7 separate regions of the Homo sapiens genome follow, and regions 1, 2, 4, 5, 6 and 7 are each linked to region 3. The links are contacts of gene promoters, found by promoter capture Hi-C in blood cells and fetal thymus (Javierre and others, 2016). All regions are on one chromosome and are shown on one strand. Each heading gives the region's core, a stretch centred on a gene start or on the middle of the fragment in contact. The rest is flanking DNA. Distances are from core to core; before and after follow the strand shown.

What was found. The method cuts DNA at HindIII sites, captures the fragments that hold promoters and counts their contacts. A CHiCAGO score of 5 or more calls a contact.
Region 1: a contact is called between a fragment that was not itself captured here and the fragment with the promoter of GPR148 in region 3, in 2 of 17 cell types (naive CD4 T cells and non-activated CD4 T cells). The highest score is 5.5, in naive CD4 T cells.
Region 2: a contact is called between a fragment that was not itself captured here and the fragment with the promoter of GPR148 in region 3, in 6 of 17 cell types (total CD8 T cells, naive CD8 T cells, naive CD4 T cells and 3 more). The highest score is 9.0, in total CD8 T cells.
Region 4: a fragment that was not itself captured here is called in contact with the fragment with the promoter of GPR148 in region 3 in 1 of 17 cell types (naive CD8 T cells); the score reaches 7.1 in naive CD8 T cells.
Region 5: a contact is called between a fragment that was not itself captured here and the fragment with the promoter of GPR148 in region 3, in 1 of 17 cell types (total CD4 T cells). The highest score is 8.6, in total CD4 T cells.
Region 6: a fragment that was not itself captured here is called in contact with the fragment with the promoter of GPR148 in region 3 in 6 of 17 cell types (non-activated CD4 T cells, naive CD8 T cells, total CD8 T cells and 3 more); the score reaches 10.8 in non-activated CD4 T cells.
Region 7: a fragment that was not itself captured here is called in contact with the fragment with the promoter of GPR148 in region 3 in 1 of 17 cell types (naive CD8 T cells); the score reaches 5.7 in naive CD8 T cells.

What each region holds. Positions count from the first base shown.
Region 1 is chr2:131,087,012-131,090,181 of GRCh38, forward strand. All of the region lies in intron 1 of FAM168B (family with sequence similarity 168 member B), which reads right to left. Among named protein-coding and RNA genes, the nearest start is that of FAM168B, 4.9 kb to the right of the region's middle. The HindIII fragment of the contact is 7,532 bases long and covers 1-3,170 here.
Region 2 is chr2:130,349,114-130,352,185 of GRCh38, forward strand. No RefSeq gene overlaps it. Among named protein-coding and RNA genes, the nearest start is that of PTPN18, 5.4 kb to the right of the region's middle. The HindIII fragment of the contact is 553 bases long and covers 1,352-1,904 here.
Region 3 is chr2:130,727,669-130,730,570 of GRCh38, forward strand. It overlaps GPR148 (G protein-coupled receptor 148), which reads left to right and starts at 1,402. Exons shown (of 1, transcript NM_207364.2): 1 at 1,402-2,668. The coding sequence starts at 1,484. The coding sequence ends at 2,527. RefSeq lists enhancers at 1-552, 553-1,131 and a silencer at 35-204. The HindIII fragment of the contact is 6,760 bases long and covers 600-2,902 here.
Region 4 is chr2:131,107,681-131,110,970 of GRCh38, forward strand. The region is part of intron 1 of PLEKHB2 (pleckstrin homology domain containing B2); the gene reads left to right. Among named protein-coding and RNA genes, the nearest start is that of PLEKHB2, 4.0 kb to the left of the region's middle. The HindIII fragment of the contact is 424 bases long and covers 1,322-1,745 here.
Region 5 is chr2:130,376,603-130,379,741 of GRCh38, forward strand. No RefSeq gene overlaps it. Among named protein-coding and RNA genes, the nearest start is that of PTPN18, 22 kb to the left of the region's middle. The HindIII fragment of the contact is 355 bases long and covers 1,651-2,005 here.
Region 6 is chr2:130,333,148-130,336,416 of GRCh38, forward strand. No RefSeq gene overlaps it. Among named protein-coding and RNA genes, the nearest start is that of TRE-TTC1-1, 2.4 kb to the right of the region's middle. The HindIII fragment of the contact is 542 bases long and covers 987-1,528 here.
Region 7 is chr2:131,019,385-131,022,535 of GRCh38, forward strand. The region is part of intron 4 of ARHGEF4 (Rho guanine nucleotide exchange factor 4); the gene reads left to right. Among named protein-coding and RNA genes, the nearest start is that of SMIM39, 14 kb to the right of the region's middle. The HindIII fragment of the contact is 3,953 bases long and covers 1-3,151 here.

The sequences.
Region 1 (3,170 bases), core at 503-3,002, 360 kb after region 3:
GCCGAGATTGCGCCACTGCACTCCAGCCTGGGCGACAGCGAGACTCCGTCTCAAAAAAAAAAAAAAAAAAAAAAGAGTCACAAGAGAATAAAGTGTTCTGAGGGCTGAGAGGGGAGAGCAAAAATTCTGTGGAGGAGGGAAGAAATAGGAAAAACTTGATTAAAGGGCAGCGTTAGGCCAGGCACAGCGGCTCATGCCTGTAATCCCAGTACTTTTGGAGGCCAAGGTGGGAGGATCACTTGAGGTCAGGAGTTGGAGACCAGCCTAGCCAACATGGTGAAACCCCATCTCTACTAAAAATACAACAAAAATTAGCCAGGTGTGTTGGCAGGCACCTGTAATCCCAGCTACACAGGAGGCTGACGCAGGAGAATCACTTGAATCTGGGAGGCAGAGGTTGCAGTGAGCTGAGATCGTGCCACTGCACTCCAGCCTGGGCAACAGAGCAAGACTCCGTCTCAAAAAATAGTAATAATAATAATTAAAGGGCAGCATTTCCAATAAACAATGGATAGGATCAAATCAGCCTCAGAAATGAGAACAAGCAAGATGCATTTTAAGAACATTAAGCAACTGAGTTTGTTTGGAGCTTAGGCTCTATGTAGGGAATCAGTAATAGATGATTGTGGAGACACAGCTTAGGTACAACCACCAAGTGGAGACCCTTAAATACAGGCCTGAGTGGAGATGTCCTCTGGTAGGCAAAGAAGCTCCTGAGCAACTCTGAGGTAAACAGAGTTACCACATGACCCCACAATTCCACTCCTAGGTACATACCCAAGAGAAGTGAAAACACATGCTACACCTACAGTTGGACATGAACATTTGTAACAGCATTATTCCTAACAGCCAAAAACTGCAAATTCAAATGAAGTACTGAAGGATGTTAGGAGGCTCTCCTTCCATAATGACCTGACTTATAGCCTAGACCAATAATAATAAAACTCTACTTGGCTGGTTGCAGTGGCTCATCCCTGTAATCCCAGCACTTTGGGAGGCCGATGAGGGCGGATCACTTGAGACCACGCGTTCGAGACCAGCCTGGGCAACATGGTGAAACCCAGTCTCTGCTAAAAATACAAAAATTAGCTGGGCGTGGTGGCACACACCTGTAATCCCAGCTACTCGGGAGGCTAAGGCATGAGAACCGCTTCAACCTGGGAGGTAGAGGCTGCAGTGAGCTGAAATCGCACCACTGCACTCCAGATGGGGCAACAGAGCAAGACTCTGTCTGGGGGGAAAAAAAAATCAAATGGAGCCTTTACATCTAACTTCCAGTTTACAAGAAACGCAGGAGTAGGAGGGAATATGCTGAATGACACCATGAAACAATCAGACAAACCCCAAAAGTGGGACATTCCAGAGGACAAATGACCCAGTTTCTTCAATAAGGCAATGGTGGGGGGAAAAGGGGGCGGGAGAGGAGGAAGGCCAGATAATTCTAAATTAAAATAGATATAGACATAAAAGCAATAGCTGAATTTTGTTTGGACTCGATTTAGACTGAAACAACTGTAAACAGAGTTTAAAGATATCTGGGACACGACTGAATACTGGGTATCAGCTGGTATGAAACAATTATGTTTAATCCTGGTAACAGTACTGTGATTATGTATAGTTACATAAATTTGTAAAGATACAATAAAGTATATAAAGTCGAAAATGATACATCTATACTTTAAAATATTTCTACAAAAAGAGCAAATAATCTCTACATCAAGTAGAAATTATGTAAATGCTAATAATCTTTACATCAAGATGTTGCATATAAGGTTATGCACTGTACTGCCGCATTTTCAATTCTGCATAATGCAAAACTAAAGAAAAAACACACCATCACCAATCTACCTGAAATGTTAGTGCTACTAAAATCTCCCTGCAACCACCAACTTTCCAGTCTAATTTGCTGTGGACTAAGAAACCCAAACCCAAGGCTGGATCTAGAGCGTACCACTTTTTTTTTTTTTTTTTGAGACAGAGTTTTCACTTTTGTTGCCCAGGCTGGAGTGCAATGGCGCGATCTCAGCTCACCGCAACTTCTGACTCCCAGGTTCAAGCGATTCTCCTGTCTCAGCCTCCTGAGTAGCTGGGATTACAGGCATGTGCCACCACACCCAGCTAATTTTGTATTTTTAGTAGAGACGGGGTTTCTCCACGTTGGTCAGGTTGGTCTCGAACTTCCGACCTCAGGTGATCCGCCAGTCTTGGCCTCCCAAAGTGCTGGGATTACAGGCGTGAGCCACTGCACCGGGCCGAGCTTACCACATTTTTAGTTTCCCATTTGAAATGACTCAACTGTCAGAATTCTTATGGGTGGTTTGACACCTGCATTAGAATAGACAAATGTCAGATTACCTTTAAAAAGATGACAGCAAAAATTCCTAACTTGAAAATCAAATCATAATCAGAAGAAAACTCTATCTTTAAAATGAAAGACCTGGCCAGGCGCAGTGGCTCACGCCTGTAATCCCAGCACTTTGGGAGGCCAAGGCGGGTGGATCACAAGGTCAGGAGATCGAGACCATCCTGGCTAACACGGTGAAACCTGTCTCTACTAAAAAAAAATACAAAAAGAAAATTAGCCACTCACAACTACTTGGGGAGGCTGAGGCAGGAGAATGGTGTGAACCCGGAAGGCGGAGCTTGCAATGAGCCGAGATGGCGCCACTGCACTCCAGTCTGGGCAACAGAGCGAGACTCCATCTCAAAAAAAAAAAAAAGAAAGAAAAAAGAAAGACCTGGCTGGGCATGGTGGCTCACGCCTGTAATCCCAGCACTTTGGGAGGCCAAGGTGGGCAGATCACGAGGTCAGGAATTCCAGACCAGCCTGGCCAACATGGTGAAACCCCGTCTCTACTAAAAATACAAAAATTAGCCAGCGGTGGTGGTGCACACCTGTAGTCCCAGCTACTTGGGAGGCCGAGGCAGGAGAATCACTTGAACCCAGGAGGCAGAGGTTTCAGTGAGCCGAGATCATACCACTGCACTCCAGCCTGGGCGACATGGACGCTCCATCTCAAAAAAAGAGGCCGGCGCAGTGGCTCACGCCTGTAATCCCAGCACTTCGGGAGGCCGACGAGGGCGGATCACGAGGTCAGGAGATCGAGACCACAGTGAAACCCCGTCTCTACCAAAAATACAAAAAAAAAAAAAAAAAAAATTATCCAGGC
Region 2 (3,072 bases), core at 378-2,877, 380 kb before region 3:
CACAGGCACCATCACAAGATGTGAGCACCTGCTCCCCAGGTGAGCCCTGGGCATCATCAGAGGTTTTAACCTCTGTCACGCACTAGGTGCAAAATGTTTCCCCAATTGCATTTGCATTTCTTTAGTTACTCTGGAGGTTGTGCCTCTTTTCAAATACTTACTGGCCTTGTGTGTTATGTATTTTCTGTGATGGGTCTGCTCTCCTTATAGATGCATTTGTTCACCTCTAGATTGATTGTTTTAAATCTTGTTAGTTGTGGAAAATTTGAAACATACAAGAGCAGAGAAGATGGTATAGTGAGTCGCTGAGCCGGTTTTGATGTGAGCCAGTCTTCATAGCTCACCCACTCCCTGTATCCACTCCACCAGTTTTTAAAGTAGATCTCAGACATCAGAGCATTTCATCCATATGTATTTCCATGTATATCTCTAAAAGATAAGGACTCAACAACAACAAAAAAATTATTACACATAAAATTATCAATGATCATTCCTTTATATCATCAGATATCCACTTAATGTTCAGCTTGCCTTGATTAGAGTGTGCTTGTTTCGACTAAGATCGACATCAGGTCCATTCATTGCAAATAATTGACAAGTCTTTTAAAAACAGCTTTATTGCGATAGTCAACATATTACACAATTCACAGCGCAGGTTGAACTCACAGCCTTGTGCGCCCGTCCCTGTGCATCAATGATTTTTTAAAAATCATATTCATAGGGCTGTGTAACCATCACCACAATCTAATTTTGGAACATTTTTTGTCCCCCTCTGCCCCCACTGCCCCGGAGAGAAACCCCATACGCATTAGCTGTCACTCTAATCCCCTCCCTCCCACCAGGCCCCAGCCCCTCTGGCAACCACTAGTCTACTTTTGGCCAGACTCTGCTGAGACATTAGAACAGGATTTATTTATTTATTTTATTTTATTTTATTTTTGAGACGGAGTCTCGCTCTGTCGCCCAGGCTGGAGTGCAGTGGTGCAACCTCGGCTCACTGCAAGCTCCGCCTCCCGGGTTCACGCCATTCTCCTGCCTCAGCCTCCCGAGTAGCTGGGACTACAGGTGCCTGCCACCACACCTGGCTCATTTTTTGTATTTTTAGTAGAGACGGGGTTTCACCGTGTTAGCCAGGATGGTCTCGATCTCCTGACCTCATGATCTGCCCACCTCGGCCTCCCAAAGTGCTGAGATTACAGGCGTGAGCCACTGTGCCCAGCCTTAGAACAGGATTTTTTTTTTTTAATTAATACTTTTGGTCTCTATAGATTTGCTGTTTCTGAACATTTCATGTAAATGGAATAATACGTCTTTTCTGACTGGCTTCTTCCACTTAGCATAATGTTTTCTAAGCTTATTCACAGTGTAATTTATTTATGTCAGCACTTCATTTCTTTTCATTGCCAAATAATATTCCATGTATGTCCCTATACATGGGGTATTATTATATGCCACATTTGATCCATCAGTTGATGAAATTTAGGTTGTTTGCCACATTTGGGCCATTGTGAACAATGCTGCTATGAGCATTTGTGTGTTAAGTCTTGAGTCTCTCTATAAGATTGTCTGTTTCTTTGCAGTTTACTCAGTTAGGAAACTGGTTTGTCTTAATAGACCTTTCACCGTCTGGATGTTGCTGATCTTAACACTGTGGTGTCATTTAACATTTTTGTCTGCCGTTGTGTTTTCTCTGAATTAATATTGAGATCTAGAGGCTCAATCAGATATACCTGCAAATTTTTTTAGCAGTAATACTTGATGAGGGTGTTATGTTCTTTCATTAGGAATCTCAGTGCCTGCCTGGGAGTCGTTTTTGTGATGTCAGTAGGCAGTATTATTGCATAGCTCCATTAATTTATTAGGGGTTCAAACTTGGTGCCTATTTCTCAAGAAATTAATATGGAAGCTTTTTGCATTACAGTTTCAAATTCATTAAACTGGTGTGTGTAAGTACTTAGTGTAGTTTTTTTCTTTTTTTTTTTTTTTTGAGATGGAGTCTCGTTCTGTTGCCCAGGCTGGAGTGCAGTGGCGCAATCGCTGCTCACTCCGCCTCCGGGGTTCAAGCGATTCTCCTGCCTCCGCCTCCCAAGTAGCTGGGACTACAGGCGCCCGCCACCATGCCTGGCTAATTTTTTGTATTTTTAGTAGAGATGAGGTTTCACCATGTTAGCCAGGATGGTCTCGATCTCCTGACCTCGTGATCCACCCACCTCGGCTTCCCAAAGTACTAGGATTACAGGCATGAGCCACCACGCCTGGCCTAGTTAGTGTATTTTAACTAGCTACCTTATTAAATTTTCTCATAAGTCCTTACAGTTTTTCATAAGAGTTTCTAAAACTTTGTAGCTGATTATGCTATATGCCAGTTAGCATTTCTGATGGGCCCCTCCCTCCTTTCTCCTTGCCACCCTGCATTGCCTAGGACTTCAGAACACCCTGGTCAGCAGCAGCAGTGAGGGTGCCCCCTCATTATAGGAATCCTTCCAGAGGTGTTTACACTCACCCAAGCATGGATGCACACTCATTTCTCTCTGGTGTTATAATTGATGGGCAGACAGCAATGCACACGGATCCATGCATCCCTTTGGTTGTCCTGGGAACTGCACTCAGCCATGACACATGGGCTGTGCAATCAGGGCCCACAGACACGGCCCTCATCTGTGCAGGACCCTGGCCGGCATTTGCTGACAATAACATGGCCAGTTGGTCTTTTCTAAATAAAGCACCGCATACAGAGGAAGTATGCTGAAGCTGGGCTAGCATCAGGTGTAGAAACTGCAGGCTGAGGAGGCAGCAGCCTGACCCGGCCTGTCAGTCATGGAAGTCCCAGAGTGCTGCCAGCGTTGCTGTTAGAGCACTTGTCTGCCCGAGTTTATTTCCTCCAGGGGCACATCGGGGGCCTGCTCTGGGCCATGCAGATGCCCAGGCTCTGCCCTGGAGTAGTGGGGGAAAAGTTGGTATGAGCATTTTAAAGATGGGGAAGAGGGCTTTCCCCTCTATTCCTAGTGGTTTCCCCTCCTTTCTGAAGCAGAATTGCAGGACAGCTCCCGAGGGCAGCAGGTCAGCCTCCAC
Region 3 (2,902 bases), core at 152-2,651:
TGGTCCGGGGCTGTTCTGGGCGTGGTCTTTGGCTGTGATGGGCGTGGCCTTGGGCTATGGAGGGCGTGGTCCCAGGGCTGCGATGATGGTGGTCCGGGGCTGTGGTGGGCGTGGCCCCGGGCTGCGGCGGGCGTGGTCCCCGGGCTGCGGCGGACGTGGTCAGGGGCGGTTCTGGGCGTGGTCCCTGGGCTGCGGTGGACGTGGTCTCGGGCTGTGACGAGCATGGTCCCTGGGCAGCAGTGGACGTGGTCTCACACCCAGAGTCTGAAATTTCTGCCTCTTCCTGGCCCTAAAAATATCCTGCCTGTTCCCACGCGGCTCCTGCCTTCTGGAGCAGTCTGCCAGGCCGGCGGTGGGTGTTGGGCAGGGGTCTCAGGCTGCCAGCAGCCAAGTGCAGCCCGTTCTGCAGTGATGACAGGGATCTGTGGGCAGAGGGGACCGAGCCTCGGAGGATGCTGTAGGTGGGAGAGCTAACATTGACTCAGCATTTACTTCAGGCTATGCACTGTGCTGAGTCCCTTACCTCTGGGCTTCCGCAACGTTTCCCTGAGGTCAGTGTGGTTGGCATTCGTGTTTCACAGATAAGGAAACTGGAACAAAGCTTTTCAAGGCCACGCAGCCAACACCTCGAGAGAGCGGGAGAGCTTGTTCACTTGAACTGGATCCCCAAACACCAACAGCCACCCTGGCCACTGGCTCTGACTGAGCTCACCCCACCCCCGACAAGCCAGGTGCCTGGGGAACCTGCCTTCCATTCCTCCCCACTAGCTCCTATGAGGTCTCTGCCTGCCAGGCCTCCTCCTCCCCAGAGGAAGGGACGTTTCTACCACACAGCGACCCCACAAGTCAGCTGAGATTTTGGGGGCACCGAATACTCACATGGAGCCCTGAGTGGAAGGGGTGTAGGAGTCACACTCACACGCATGCACAGGGTCACCCTGAGCTGGAGACCATACCCAAGGCTCTGTGAGGAAATGTGAGTGCGCCCAGGCCCCTCCAGCCTGGTCCAATTTGCTGAGCCTCTAGCTCGACAGAGGTCAGACCAGGTCTACAGCCCAGCGATCCTAGTTCCAGACAGCTGCTCCTTCCTTTCTAGGAGGGCAGCCCGGAATATAATCCAGTGTGGTGAGAATCCATTGCACACTCCCTGTGAGCCAAGCAGACAGGTTTGGGGGCCACTGAGATAGGGGACACTTCTGGAGGGGTCAGTGACTGCAAAATGGTGGCAGTGGGATGATCTGTTATGTCTACCCACGCACATGCAGCTGCACAGTTGCAGAGATGTGAATGCAGGAAGCCAGGTGTGAGTCTGAATTCACATTGGTTTTTTTATCTTTATTAAGCAGTCATTCCTAAGGCCTGCCCGAGCCTGGCATCTCTACAGAGGAGTGGTGCCATCAGGACCCCTGTGGGGCAGATCAACACTCAAGGCAGGTGCAGAATCAACAACCTGTGACAAAGCCAGCCATCCCTGCCAGGAAGCATGGGGGATGAGCTGGCACCTTGCCCTGTGGGCACTACAGCTTGGCCGGCCCTGATCCAGCTCATCAGCAAGACACCCTGCATGCCCCAAGCAGCCAGCAACACTTCCTTGGGCCTGGGGGACCTCAGGGTGCCCAGCTCCATGCTGTACTGGCTTTTCCTTCCCTCAAGCCTGCTGGCTGCAGCCACACTGGCTGTCAGCCCCCTGCTGCTGGTGACCATCCTGCGGAACCAACGGCTGCGACAGGAGCCCCACTACCTGCTCCCGGCTAACATCCTGCTCTCAGACCTGGCCTACATTCTCCTCCACATGCTCATCTCCTCCAGCAGCCTGGGTGGCTGGGAGCTGGGCCGCATGGCCTGTGGCATTCTCACTGATGCTGTCTTCGCCGCCTGCACCAGCACCATCCTGTCCTTCACCGCCATTGTGCTGCACACCTACCTGGCAGTCATCCATCCACTGCGCTACCTCTCCTTCATGTCCCATGGGGCTGCCTGGAAGGCAGTGGCCCTCATCTGGCTGGTGGCCTGCTGCTTCCCCACATTCCTTATTTGGCTCAGCAAGTGGCAGGATGCCCAGCTGGAGGAGCAAGGAGCTTCATACATCCTACCACCAAGCATGGGCACCCAGCCGGGATGTGGCCTCCTGGTCATTGTTACCTACACCTCCATTCTGTGCGTTCTGTTCCTCTGCACAGCTCTCATTGCCAACTGTTTCTGGAGGATCTATGCAGAGGCCAAGACTTCAGGCATCTGGGGGCAGGGCTATTCCCGGGCCAGGGGCACCCTGCTGATCCACTCAGTGCTGATCACATTGTACGTGAGCACAGGGGTGGTGTTCTCCCTGGACATGGTGCTGACCAGGTACCACCACATTGACTCTGGGACTCACACATGGCTCCTGGCAGCTAACAGTGAGGTACTCATGATGCTTCCCCGTGCCATGCTCACATACCTGTACCTGCTCCGCTACCGGCAGCTGTTGGGCATGGTCCGGGGCCACCTCCCATCCAGGAGGCACCAGGCCATCTTTACCATTTCCTAGAGTTCTTGAGTCCACAGTCTGGCAAGCTGAGGTTAAAAATCATATGTTGAATGCAGCAGTGTCCACTTATGACTAACTTCTTAGAACAGCACAATATAATAGTGGAATTGGGCCTTTCAGAAGACCTCAACTGATGATTTTCACCATTTTGACAGTTTTTAAGTAGAGAAAGCTCTCTTATGACACTGAAATCCTACTTGGAAACGGAAGCAAGTAAAGGCAATCAAGCAGGGCTCTGGTCTAAGTCAAGCCTTGATCTGCGTCCCTCCAATGGCTTGCTGCACACCCTCCCTGGCCACTGTGGATGCATCCTTGCTGACCAACACACAGAAGCCAAAATGTTGCTGACAGTGAGAACCACAGAGGTAAGCAAGC
Region 4 (3,290 bases), core at 284-2,783, 380 kb after region 3:
AGACGGAGTTTCACTCCTGTTGCTTAGGCTGGAGTGCGATGGCGCAGTCTCGGCTCACTGCAACCTCCGCTTCCCGGGTTCAAGGGAGTCCCCTGCCTCTGCCCCCCAAATAGCTGGGATTACAGGCGTGCGCCACCATGCTCGGCTAATTTTTTGTATTTTTAATAGAGATGGGGTTTCACTATGTTGGTCAGGCTGGTCTCGAACTCCTGACCTCAGGTGATCCGCCTGCCTTGGCCTCCCAAAGTGTTGGGATTATAGGCGTGAGCCAACGCGCCTGGCCAATTCTCACTTTTGGACCATCTACTACAGGGCTGTTTGGACATACCTCCTTTAATTGTCACAGTAACCCCATGACGTAATTGGTTGTGCCTGGTCATACAGGTAAGAAAACTGAGGCTTAGAGAGGTTTAGAATTTTGCTGAAGGTCATACTAGTGAGTAGAAGGCAAAGTAGGCTTCAGGCTTAGAACTGTCAGATTCCAAAGGCAGTATTTTTTGTCCATCTGTTGTCTGTTTCGATTCAATGCTTTCAAAGAGATACAAATTCAAATTTAAAATAATTTAAATTGTTGAATATGGCTTACATTTTAAAGCTTTGCATAGGTTTTATTGGCATAAAAATAATGTTCTTTTGCAGCTAGTTTGCTGGTGTTTTATTCTCTAGAGACCAACAGCTAGGGCTTAGTGTTTATCTGATGAGTTTTAGTTTATGCATTCAGTTTTGCTCCAGGATATAAATAGTGAAATGTTGAATTAAGTTATGGAGTGGTGTGAAATTCAGCATGCTAAGGCAATCAAACAGAAGTCTTCTGAGCCATTTGAGAAGCAGCTTGATGTCCTTGTTCTTAGAACAGGGCTGTCCAATCTTTAGACTTTCTTGGGCCACATTGGAAGAAGGCCATACATAAAATACACTAACCCTAATGATAGCTGATGCACTAAAAAATAAAATTGCAAAAAAATCTCATAACGTTTTAAGAAAGTTTACAAATTTGTGTTGGGCTGCATTCAAAGCTGACCTGGGCTGGGGCCATGAGTTGGACAAGCTTGTTCTAGAATATTTTCGGCAAATTTTGGTAAGGGGGAAAATAAGTAATAGTAATAATAGTAGTAAATAGTAATAATTGCTGTCAAAGCAGCTACCATTTATCGAGTTCTAGTAACTGTGAGGCACCATGCCAACTACTTACATATTATTTCACCCAATTTTCCGAACATCCTGTCAAGTAGGTGGTGGGAATTTTCGTTTTATAGATCAGGCTTGGAAACGTGACTTGTCCGATTGAGTCAGGATCTGAACATAGGTCTTTTAACTCTAAAGCTTATACCCAAACACTGGGTTCTGTGAAATTTCAAAAGCATATGATAGGCTGACTGCAGTGGCTCATACCTGTAATCCCAGAACTTTGGGAGGCTGAGATGGAAGAATCCCTTGAGCCCAGGAGTTCGAGACCAGCTTGGGCAACATAGTGAAACCTCGTCTCTACAAAAACAAAACAAAATGTGATCAAAATCATACTTCATGATTTTTGGTTTCTAAAGATACTCTCTAAATTTCTCTCCCCAATTTAAAAACGAAAGCAGAGCACTGTTGGAAGGTTCAAATAGGTAGATTAATTTAGGTTGGTTTTTTTGTTTTGGTATAGTTGAAGATAATTCAGGTTATTGTTTACATGTTTACATTTATCAAAATAATACATGTACATAGATTGAAAGACCAAATAGGCTGAGCGTGGTGGCTCAAGCTTTTGGAGGCCAGCACTTTTGGAGGCTGAGGCGGGTGGATCCCCTGAGGTCAGGAGTTTGAGACCAGCCTGACCAACGTGGTAAAATCCCGTCTGTACTAAAAGTACAAAAATCAGCTGTGCGTGGTGGTGGGCGCCTGTAATCCCAGCTACTTGGGAGGCTGAGGCAGGAGAATCGCTTGAACCTGGAAGGCGATGGGTGCAGTGAGCCAAGATCGCGCCACTATACTCCAGCCTGGGCAACAAGAGCGAAACTCTGTCTCAAAACAAACAAACAAAAAAAACAACCAAATAGTGCTTTAAACCTTAGAATAAAAAAAAATATATCAATCTCTTGTCCACCCCCTTTTTAAACTATAGACAACTATTTTCACCTTTTTTTGGCACTTTTTAAAATAGTATTTTGGCTGGGTGTGGTGGCTCACACCTGTAATTCCAGCACTTTGGGATGCCAAGGCAAGTGGATCATGAGGTCAGGAGATCGAGACCATCCTGGCTGACACGGTGAAACCCTGTCTCTACTAAAAATACAAAAAAATTACCTGGGTGTGGTGGCGGTTGCCTGTAGTCCCAGCTATTCGGGAGGCTGAGGCAGGAGAATGGCATGAACCTGGGAGGTGGAGGTTGCAGAGAGCTGAGATCGCGCCACTGCCCTCCAGCCTGGGTGACAGAGTGAGACTCCGTCTCAAAAAAAAAAAATAGTATTTTATCTTTGTGGATATGGTAAAATTGCTATTGATTTACATGTAATCTTTTGACTTTTGATCATAGAAGACTTTTGCTGCCTTGTAAAACTCTTCAATCCACCAGTGAGTCAAAAACTTGTAGGAAATTTGTCAGTTACTTTTTTTCCTCCCCTGTAGTACTCGGTCCTGCTCCAGTCTGGACTGTTTTTTTTTTTTTTTTTCCTCCCCAGTCCTTCTGCACAGCTGCCTTTCTGGGAATTTCCTCCCCTGCCAGTTGAAGACCGAATCCTACTCTGTCGCCCAGGCTGGAGTGCAGTGACATGATCATTCATGGCTTACTGTGCTTCTACCTTCTGGGCTCAAGCGATCTTCCTACCTCAGTCTCCCGAGTAGGTGGGACTACAGGCGTGCACCACTATGTGCAGCTAACTTCTTATTTTTTTGTTGAGAATGTCTCACTGTGTTGCTGGGTTGGTCTCAAACTCCTGGGCTGAAGCGATTCTCCCACCTTGGCTTCCCAAAGTGTTGGGATTATGCTCAAGAGCCACCATGCCTGGCCTTGATTAATGATTTGACTGGGTGTGGAATTCTGGCTTGGAAATAATTTTCCGTTAGCATTTTGAAGGTATTGCTCTAGATGTCCTGTGTCTTGCTGATTGTTGATCCTTTATATATGCTTTTTTCTTTGGGAAGTTTTTAGGTTCTCTTCTTTGTCCTTGATGTTATGAAATTTCAGTCATCCTACCTATGGAGAATCTTTTAAAATTCATCATGCTGGACAGTCATTGGATCTTTTGAATCTAGAAATGTGTTATCCTGTTGCAGGAAATGGTTTTATAGTATTATTTCTCTGCTCT
Region 5 (3,139 bases), core at 578-3,077, 350 kb before region 3:
AGGCCTGGCCGATTCTCCCTCACAGACAGTAGAGGGAACCACCCTGCTGACCCGTCAGTTTCAGGCTTTGGGACCTCAGAACTGTAAGAGAATAAACATGTTTTGAGCCACACGGTTTATAGTCATTTGTTATGGCAGCCACAGGAAACTCACACACTGGGTATCCAGGAATGCAAGGCCTGGCCGCTCCTGAACTGGGCATCTCAGAGCTGTGTTTGCAATAGGACACTGCAGCAGGTGATGTTTCCTTCTGGATATGCCCTGAGCTCAGGGCTCCTCTTCTGCAGTGCAGCCCACTGGGTGCACAGCATCTGTCTGGGCTCTCACAAACCCCCATGGGATGTGGGGGTCAATGGGACCGTTGCAGGCACCATACTCGTGTTGCTTTGTTTCTGACCCAGTAGGAACAGTGAAGGCTCAGCTGTCAGTTTCCAAGTAGGATCGGATCTGATGATGCCTCCTTTTCACAGGAGTTAGTTACTTCTCCTTTTCTGCTTTCAACATCCCCTGCCTTGACTTCTCTCCTTTGTATGGCATTTGTTTGTCTTAGACCGTGACGTCCTGAGAGAAAACTAGGCCCCATTTGTGGTTAGGTTGGTTTCCAATCTCAGGGGCAGAGAGCTGCTTTACATAATTGATGAAAACTTTGTTTCTGTTTCCTAACTCTCGATTCAGTGCTTTTTTCACATACTCCCAAGCTTACATGTCCTTGCTACCTTCAGAAACAAAACATGGTATTAAAAGTTGCTGCTGGATATTGGGCAGCTGATATCTGACCTCATGAAGCAGAAGGGGAGGGTGAGGAATTGCCACTTGCAATAGGGATCCCCTGAGCTTCCCTGATACTAACATGGTGGGGGGGGGGGCTTGATAAAAAACAAAGGGCAGGCTCAAGAGCTCAGGGCTGCTGCTGAGAGTCTAATGGCTTCTCAGCCCCTGGTAACCTTACCCTCCAGGCCCTACTCCCACCTCCTCTCCTGCCTCCCACCCGGTCAGTGCTCCACCAAACTTCACTGCCTTACTGGAGTGCTCCTCCCTACCCTCTCCTTCGGCCCAGTCTCCTTCATCCCGGGAGACCCAGCTCACATCTCACCTGCCCTGGGGATGTGGGGCCTTCTCCCTCTCCAGAATTTCTCTTCCCTCACACTGCTCCTCAGAGCACTTGGTGTCCACTTCATCACACCCCTGCCCTGGGCCGGCAGGATCCGGGGGCTACAGGCAGGTTCTATGGGTCAGGGATGGGTCTTGCTCCTCTTTGCCACCTAGGTGTTTGGAGCTTCCCCTGCACAGAGCAGTGCTCCGCAAATGCTTGTGGATTTCAGCTCAGTCAGTGTAATTGCTCAGTTGTGTACCAGAGAAATGGTCTTGTTGGAAAGAGCCTGCAGAATGCCAACTGCAGCCTCAGCGAAGGTGATAGAAAATATCACTAAGCAACGATGGCTTATCACTCTTTGTTCAATTATAGCTAAGTTCAGCCCAAACATAAGGTCAATATCTGAATAAACTATGCAGTAAGTGGGAATTGTTTCATTTATTTTATGGCATAGTTATTTTAGAATATACAAAATGGTCGAGGAGACATGAATCCTTAAGAGTGTATGAAAAAGACAAGTGTTTATAAAGCCATACCAGCATCCAATCAATGTCAGAAGCTTTAAGAGCTGAGAAATGTCCAAACATAAAGTGTACTTGAGAAGTGATTTCCATTGGATTCCATTGCTCTCAAACAGACCCTGGCTCTGCAGCCTTACTTTTGAGGATGACTTCTCCAACAGATCTGTCTGCCTGTCTGGGGACAGATGATTGATGAGGTCAGCAAGCTGAACGATGTCACCTCTCCAGCCCCAAGCCTTTTTCAGGTACCAGAAATGGGAATTTTTATATTATCTCATTTAACATGTCTTGGCGAGCAGGACCCCAGGTTTTTAAGTCTTTGGGTTCTCCCATAGGTTTAGCACTGAGTTGTTGATCAATAAACATTTTTTGAATTTAATAAGAAAAGAAAAGCTTGGTGGGAAAGAGCTCTAAAGTTGAACTTTCTCCACCCTGACCTTCAAACCAGTCAAAGAGCCCCACCAGGGTTTGGGATCAGTAGCTCTGCCACTGCCAGCCAATGTTTCAAATTTGCATTGTCATATGTACAGCAGATGCCTCTAAGCAGTCAGCATCCAGAATATCAACAATTACTTGCAATATTTTGGTGAGATAGCCGACTTCCCCAGAAATGTGCCTACTGTATACACACCATCCCCAGTGTTGACATTTGGAAAATGGGAGAATCTCATGATCTCCTTGAACCTGGGACAAATGTGTTTGGTCCCTTCCTCACTGAGGCTGAACAAAGTCCATTCCAACCCTGCAATACAGAAATGTGGCCCAAGTTGCTGAGTGAGTGGGGAGGAAGTAGTCGCTGCATAGGCCGCTGGCAACTACTCATTCAGAGGCCTTTGTTCGTTTGATTTTGCTTAGACAAACCTGACCCCATAGGCACACTCAATTCATCAGCTCATGTGTCCCATGTGCCAGCAACAGAATAGTGTGCCTAAGATGTGTTCTCTAAGTGACTGAACTTTCCTGCTTTTCAGGCAGTCTAGTGATGGGTCAAGAGAGCCTAAGAGCTATTTGAATTGAGGAGGATTTTGATTACACTAGAATAATCAGACTTCAAGAAATTTACCATTAACACCAACTATGTGCAGCTCTCACCATTAGTGTCTGTCTTCCTACACAAGTTTATTGTTAAATTATATTTGTCTTTTTTTTTTTCCTGGAAAGGCAAGTTAGATGTCTAGGGGATTTTATGTCTGATAAATGCCTCTAGTTGGAGATGTATTACAAAGAAATTTAGACTCCCCAGGACTGAGTGGAGTAATTAGTGTATTTCTAGAATGGCTTCACCATTTGCTGGAAGACAGAATATGCTTCATGGCCATCTCCTACCAATTTTTGGCTCCTTCTTTCTCCTCCCCAATGCCCCACCCCTACTCTTTCCAACATCAGCTATTTTTATGTTTTCCCCAAATCTGAAGCTTCTTGATATATGTAGTTTTGAAGAGAGACGCACAACACTGTTTTCTTCTAGATAGCTGAGTTCTGTGGTTCTAAGATGAATAGCTAGTTCTAGCTTTAATGTGGAATT
Region 6 (3,269 bases), core at 8-2,507, 390 kb before region 3:
CCCCATCAAAAAGAAAAAAAATATCGTGTCTACCCACAACCTCAGAAGATGATTTAATTTGGGAATAGAATCTTGCAGATGTAATTAAGTTAAGGTGATTTGTACTGGATTAGAGTAGGCTCTTTTTTCTGTGTGTGTTTTTTTTTTTTTTTTTTTTTTTTTGTCTGTTTGTTTTGTTTTGTTTTGTTTGTTTGGAGATGGAGTTTCACTTTTGTTGCCCAGGCTAGAGTGCAGTAGCGCTCTCTCGGCCCACAGCAACCTCCGCCTCCTGGGTTCAAGTGATTCTTCTGCCTTAGCCTCCCAAGTAGCTGGGATTACAGGCATGCGCCACCATGCCCAGGTAATTTTGTATTTTCGGTAGAGACGGGGTTTCTCCATGTTGGTCAGGCTGGTCTCCAACTCCCAACCTCAGGTGATCCACCTGCCTCGCTCTCCCAAATTGCTGGGATTATAGGCGTGAGCCACCACACCCAGCTTAGAGTAGGTTCTATATCCAGTGACTGCTGTTCTTGCAGGAGAAGGAGAGGACACGTGGATACATATGGAGAAGAAGGCCACGTGAAGGATGGGGCCAGAGATCAGAGCGATGTAGCTACAACTCAAGGAGTGCCAGGGACAATCAGAACCACCAGAAGCTAGGACAAGCAGAGAAGCGTTCTTCCCTAGAGCCTTCAGAGGACACACAGGTCTGCCAGCACCTGGATTCCAGACTTCTGACTTTCATAACTGTGAGAGGATAAATTATGAAGTTTGTGTTAAATTACTGTGGCAGCCTAGGAAACCAATACAGACACTGGTGCCAGGAAGTAGGATGTTTCTGTAACAAATAACTAAAACGTGGAAGGAGCTTTGGAATCAGGGAGAGGCTGGAAGAAGTTTGAGGCACGTGATAGAAAAAGCCTAGAATCCATTAAGGAAACAGTTGATGGAGATGTGGACAGTAACTCTAATGAAAGCTCAGAAGGAAGTGAGAAGAGCTGTAGAGAAGCTTCTATCCTCTTAGCAGGGGTCCCCAACCCCCAGGCCAAGGACTGGTACAGGTCCCTGGCTGTTAGGAACCAGGCCACACAGCAGGAGGTGAGCGGCCAGTGATCCAGCATTACCGCCTGAGCTCCGCCTCCTGTCATACCAGCGGGGCATTAGATTCTCATAGGAGCATGAACCCTATTGGGAACTGTGCATGCTGGGGATCGAAGCTGTGCAGTCCTTATGAGAATCTAACTAATGCCTGATGATCTAAGGTGGAACAGCTTCATCCTGAAGCCATCCCATAATCCTCCCAGCCCCCCAGCCCCTGTCCCTGGTGCCAAAAAGGTTGAGGACTGATGCTCTTAGAGAATACATATATTGTCATGAACAGAATGTTAGTAGAAACCTAATGTTAAAGGTGCCTCTGGTGAGGTCTTAGAAAGAAATGAGGAACATATTCTTTGACAGCTGAGTAAAAGAGATCTTTGTTATAAAGTGGTAGAGAACTTGACTAAATTGTGTTCTGTTGTTATGTGGAAAGTAGACATGATAAATAATAAGCTTGGATATTAAACGCTTGGATATTTAGTTGAGGGAAGTGTTGAAGGTACAACCTGCTTGCTGCTAATAGGAACTGTGAGAGGAAAAAGTTACATCGAGCAAAGAACAGTCAAGCAGAAAGGAGCTGGCACTTAATGATTTAGGGGCTCTCGGGATGTCCAGATTACAAAGACTACAAAAATTAGGAAACTCACTGTTAGAAAGTGTACTCTGGAAAGAGGACCAAGGGTGTGGCTGGATAACATTTTGCTAAAGAGATTGGACATGTGACTCATGGAACCACTCCACCACCTCAGCAGAAGCCAGAAATAGAGATGGGGTTACCAAGGAAAGATCTGTGGAGGGCCCCTTTGTCTGTTGGCTGAAACCCCATGAATTATGCAGGAGACAAAGGTTTTGAGATTCTGATAGCAGTAGAAACATGGCAGCCTGGAATCTAAGGGACAGAGATGGAATGGAATAAAGGAAGGCCATGGGGCTTCCAAAATTCCACAGGCAGGCAACTGGCTGATGGAGGCATTCTGCTGCAGAAATGTTTTATCTCCCATCTTGTAATTTTCTGTTGAAAGCCAAACATGCATAAGGTGAGAGGAACTGAGGTAAATAGGCTTTTAGTGTGAAGTTTTATATTTATCTGACTAAGGAGGGAGGCTGTGTTTCTTGTTTGCTGTAGCTGTAAATGTCAGAGGCTAAAATTTCCTCTAGTGTCCTTGTTTTTGCATCCCCTGTTGCCTTTGGGTTTCCCTAGAGACTGCTTCTTACATAAATTCTGGGCCTTGCAGTTCTTTCAGCTGCAATCCCTTGTTAATATATAGGAGCCCTAAGTGATGTGGCAGTAAGATGTGGGGACAGCAGGGAGTGGTCTATAAACCCATGATCAGGGCCCAGTCTTGTTGTGAACCAGTGGTCCCTAGGCTGTGCCACTCACAAGTGCTTCTCAGCTTTTTTTTAATGTGAGTTGGAAGACTAAAGCAGACTGGAGGTGGATATTTTCCTTCCCTTGGGTTGGGTAGGCTCTGGTAGTTGCTCTGACTTTAAGCCTTTGTTAAAGAGGACAGGACGTTATGTGTGCATTTCAAAGTGGTTACACTTTCCTCCCCTTGCCAGAAGCTCCAGCAGATTTTTCTCTGATTTTCACCCAAGAACAAGATAGAATTCCTGGAGCTAAAACCCATGAGACTGTGGGGGCCCCTTAAGGCTATGTCCCCAGCATCTTTTCTCTCTTATGCTTACATGCCCAGGCTCTAGCAGTTAGTCAGTTACCCTTTAAGTTTTCCTACAGGTTGCTGGCTGCAGCAGCAGCTTCTGTGCCTGGCAAGCTGTAGCTCTGTATTTGCCTTTCCTTCTCATTTTCAGGGGAGTGGTTTGCCACGTGACCTCAATTTTCTGAGGAATCGAAGAGTTGTTGATTTTCCAGTTCGTTCAGCTTTTTTCTTGTTGTAAGGATGGAAGTGATGATTTTGAAGCTCTTTATGTGCCAGAACAAAAATTTTCATTGGTATGCTTACTAGTGATAATTATAAAAAACAAAGGTATGAATGAATGAATGAATGAGTGTGGCAGTAATTGCTGAAGACATGACCTCAGCCTTACATACAATCTCCCTGGATTAATTGAGCAAGCCAAAAAACAATGTCTTTTTTAGTTAAGAGGTCTGACTCTGTAGCCCAGGTTGGAGGGTACTGGCATGACCTCGGCTCACTGCAGCCTCAACCTCCTGGGCTCAGGCGATCCTCCAG
Region 7 (3,151 bases), core at 30-2,529, 290 kb after region 3:
CTGGGCAACAAGAGTGAAACTCTGTCTCAAAAAAAAAAAGTCATTGGATTTTTATAGGAATGCATTGAATACACAGATTGCTTTAGGTGGTATTGTCATCTTAAATATATTAAGACTTTCAATTTATGAACATGGGACGTCTTTCTTTGCTTTTTTTTTTTTCCAGCAATGTTTTGTAGCTTTTATTCTACACATCTTTGGCCTCCTTGGTTAAGTTTATTCCTAAGTATTTTATTCTTTGGTTTTTGTTTTTGTTTTTGTTTTTTTGAGATGGAGTCTCGCTCTGTCGCCCAGGCTGGAGTGCAGTGGCGCGATCTCGGCTCACTGCAAGCTCCGCCTCCCGGGTTCATGCCATTCTCCTGCCTCAGCCTCCTGAATAGCTGGGACTACAGGCGCCTGCCACCACGGCCGGCTAATTTTTTTGTATTTTTAGTAAAGACGGGGTTTCACTGTGTTAGCCAGGATGGTCTCGATTTCCTGACCTCGTGATCCGCCCGCCTCGGCCTCCCAAAGTGCTGGGATTACAGGCGTGAGCCACCATGCCTGGCCAGTATTTTATTCTTTTTAATGCTATTGTAATGAAATTTTCAAAAGTTTCCTTTTCAGATTACTCATTGCAAATATACAGAAATAAAACTGATTTTTGTGTGTTAATTTATATTCTGTAGCCTTGCTGAATTTTAGTAGCTTTAATAATTTTATTGTGGATTCTTTAAGGTATGCTACATGTAAGAAGATGTCATCTGCAAACAGATAATTTTATTTTTCCTTTTCAATGTGGATGTCCTTTATTCTTTTTCTTTATTTTATTTTATTTATTATACTTTAAGTTTTAGGGTACATGTGCACAATGTGCAGGTTTGTTACATATGTATACATGTGCCATGTTGGTGTGCTGCACCCATTAACTCTTCATTTAACATTAGGTATATCTCCTAATGCTATCCCTCCCCCCTCCCCCCACCCCACAACAGGCCCCAGTGTGTGATGTTCCCCTTCCTGTGTCCATGTGTTCTCATTGTTCAATTCCCACCTATGAGTGAGAATATGCGGTGTTCGGTTTTTTGTCCTTGCGATAGTTTGCTGAGAATGATGGTTTCCAGCTTCATCCATGTCCCTTTACAAAGGACATGAACTCATCCTTTTTTATGGATGCATAGTATTTCATGGTGTATATGTGCCACATTTTCTTAATCCAGTCTGTCGTTGTTGGACATTTGGGTTGGTTCCAAGTCTTTGCTATTGTGAATAGTGCTGCAATAAACTTACCTGTGCATGTGTCTTTATAGCAGCATGTTTTATAATCCTTTGAGTATATACCCAGTAATGGGATGGCTGGGTCAAATGGTATTTCTAGTTCTAGATCCCTGAGGAATCGCCACACTGACTTCCACAATGGTTAAACTAGTTTACAGTCCCACCAACAGTGTAAAAGTGTTCCTATTTCTCCACATCCTCTCCAGCACCTGTTGTTTCCTGACTTTTTAATGATCGCCATTCTAACTGGTGTGAGATGGTATCTCATTGTTTTGATTTGCATTTCTCTGATGGCCAGTGATGATGAGCATTTTTTCATGTGTCTTTTGGCTGCATAAATGTCTTCGTTTGAGAAGTGTCTGTTCATATCCTCTGCCCACTTTTTGATGGGGTTGTTTTTTTTCTTGTAAATTTGTTTGAGTTCATTGTAGATTCTGGATATTAGCCCTTTGTCAGATAAGTAGGTTGCAAAAATGTTCTCCCATTCTGTAGGTTGCCTGTTCACTCTGATGGTAGTTTCTTTTGCTGTGCAGAATCCTAAGCCAAAAGAACAAAGCAGGAGGCATCATGCTACCTGACTTCAAACTATACTACAAGGCTACAGTAACCAAAACAGCATGGTATTGGTACCAAAACAGAGATATAGACCAATGGAACAGAACAGAGCCCTCAGAAATAATGCCCCATATCTACAACTATCTGATCTTTGACAAACCTGACAAAAACAAGAAATGGGGAAAGGATTCCCCATTTAATAAATGGTGCTGGGAAAACTGGCTAGCCATATGTAGAAAGCTGAAACTGGATCCCTTCCTTACACCTTATACAAAAATTAATTCAAGATGGATTAAAGACTTAAATGTTAGACTTAAAACCATAAAAACCCTAGAAGAAAACCTAGGCATTACCATTCAGGACATAGGCATGGGCAAGGACTTCATGACTAAAACACCAAAAGCAATGGCAACAAAAGCCAAAATTGACAAATGGGATCTAATTAAACTAAAGAGCTTCTTTATTTCTTTTTCTTGACTGGTCTCACCAGGACTTACAGTACTATGTTGAATAGAAGTGGAGAAAGCAGGCATCCTTGTCTCGTTCCTCATCTTAGTGATACAGCTTTCCGTCTTCCATCGCTGAGTATGATGTTGGCTGTGAGATTTTCATATGTGGCCTTTATCACATTGAGGACTTTTCCTTCTATTTCTAGTTTATTGAATGTTTTATCGTAAAAACTTGGTCAATGCTTTTTCTGCATAGATTGAGATAATCATGTATTTTTCCTTCATTCTGTTAATTTAGTGTATTATATTGATTTGCTCTCCTATGTTGACCCCTCCTTGTATTCCAGAAATAAATTCCATTTGGTCCTGATATATAATCCTTTCAATATGCTGCTGAATTCCATTTCCTAGTATTTTGTTGAGGATTTTTGCATCTATATTCATAAGGGATATTAGTCTGTAGTCTTCTTGTAGTTTCTTTGTCTGGGTTTATTATCAAAGCAATAGTGATGTTATAGAATGAGTTGGGAAGTATTCCTTCCTCTTCAATATTTTTGGAAGAATTTGAGAAGAATTGGTGTTGATTATACTTTAAATATTTGGTAGAATTCACTACCAGATGGTAGAAGCCATCTGGCCCTGGGCTTTTCTTTATTGGAAGTTTTTTTTATTACTCTTCAATTTCCCTACCAATTATAGATCTATTCTGATTTCCTATTTCTTCTTGAGTCAGTTTTGGTAGATTATGTGTTTCTAGAAATTTTCCATTTCATCTAGTTTATTTAATTTGCTATTGTACAACAGTTCATGGTATTCTCATAATCATTTTTATTTCTGTAAAATAGGTAGTCATGTCTTACTTTGCTCATCAAAACTTTTGATTTTTTACA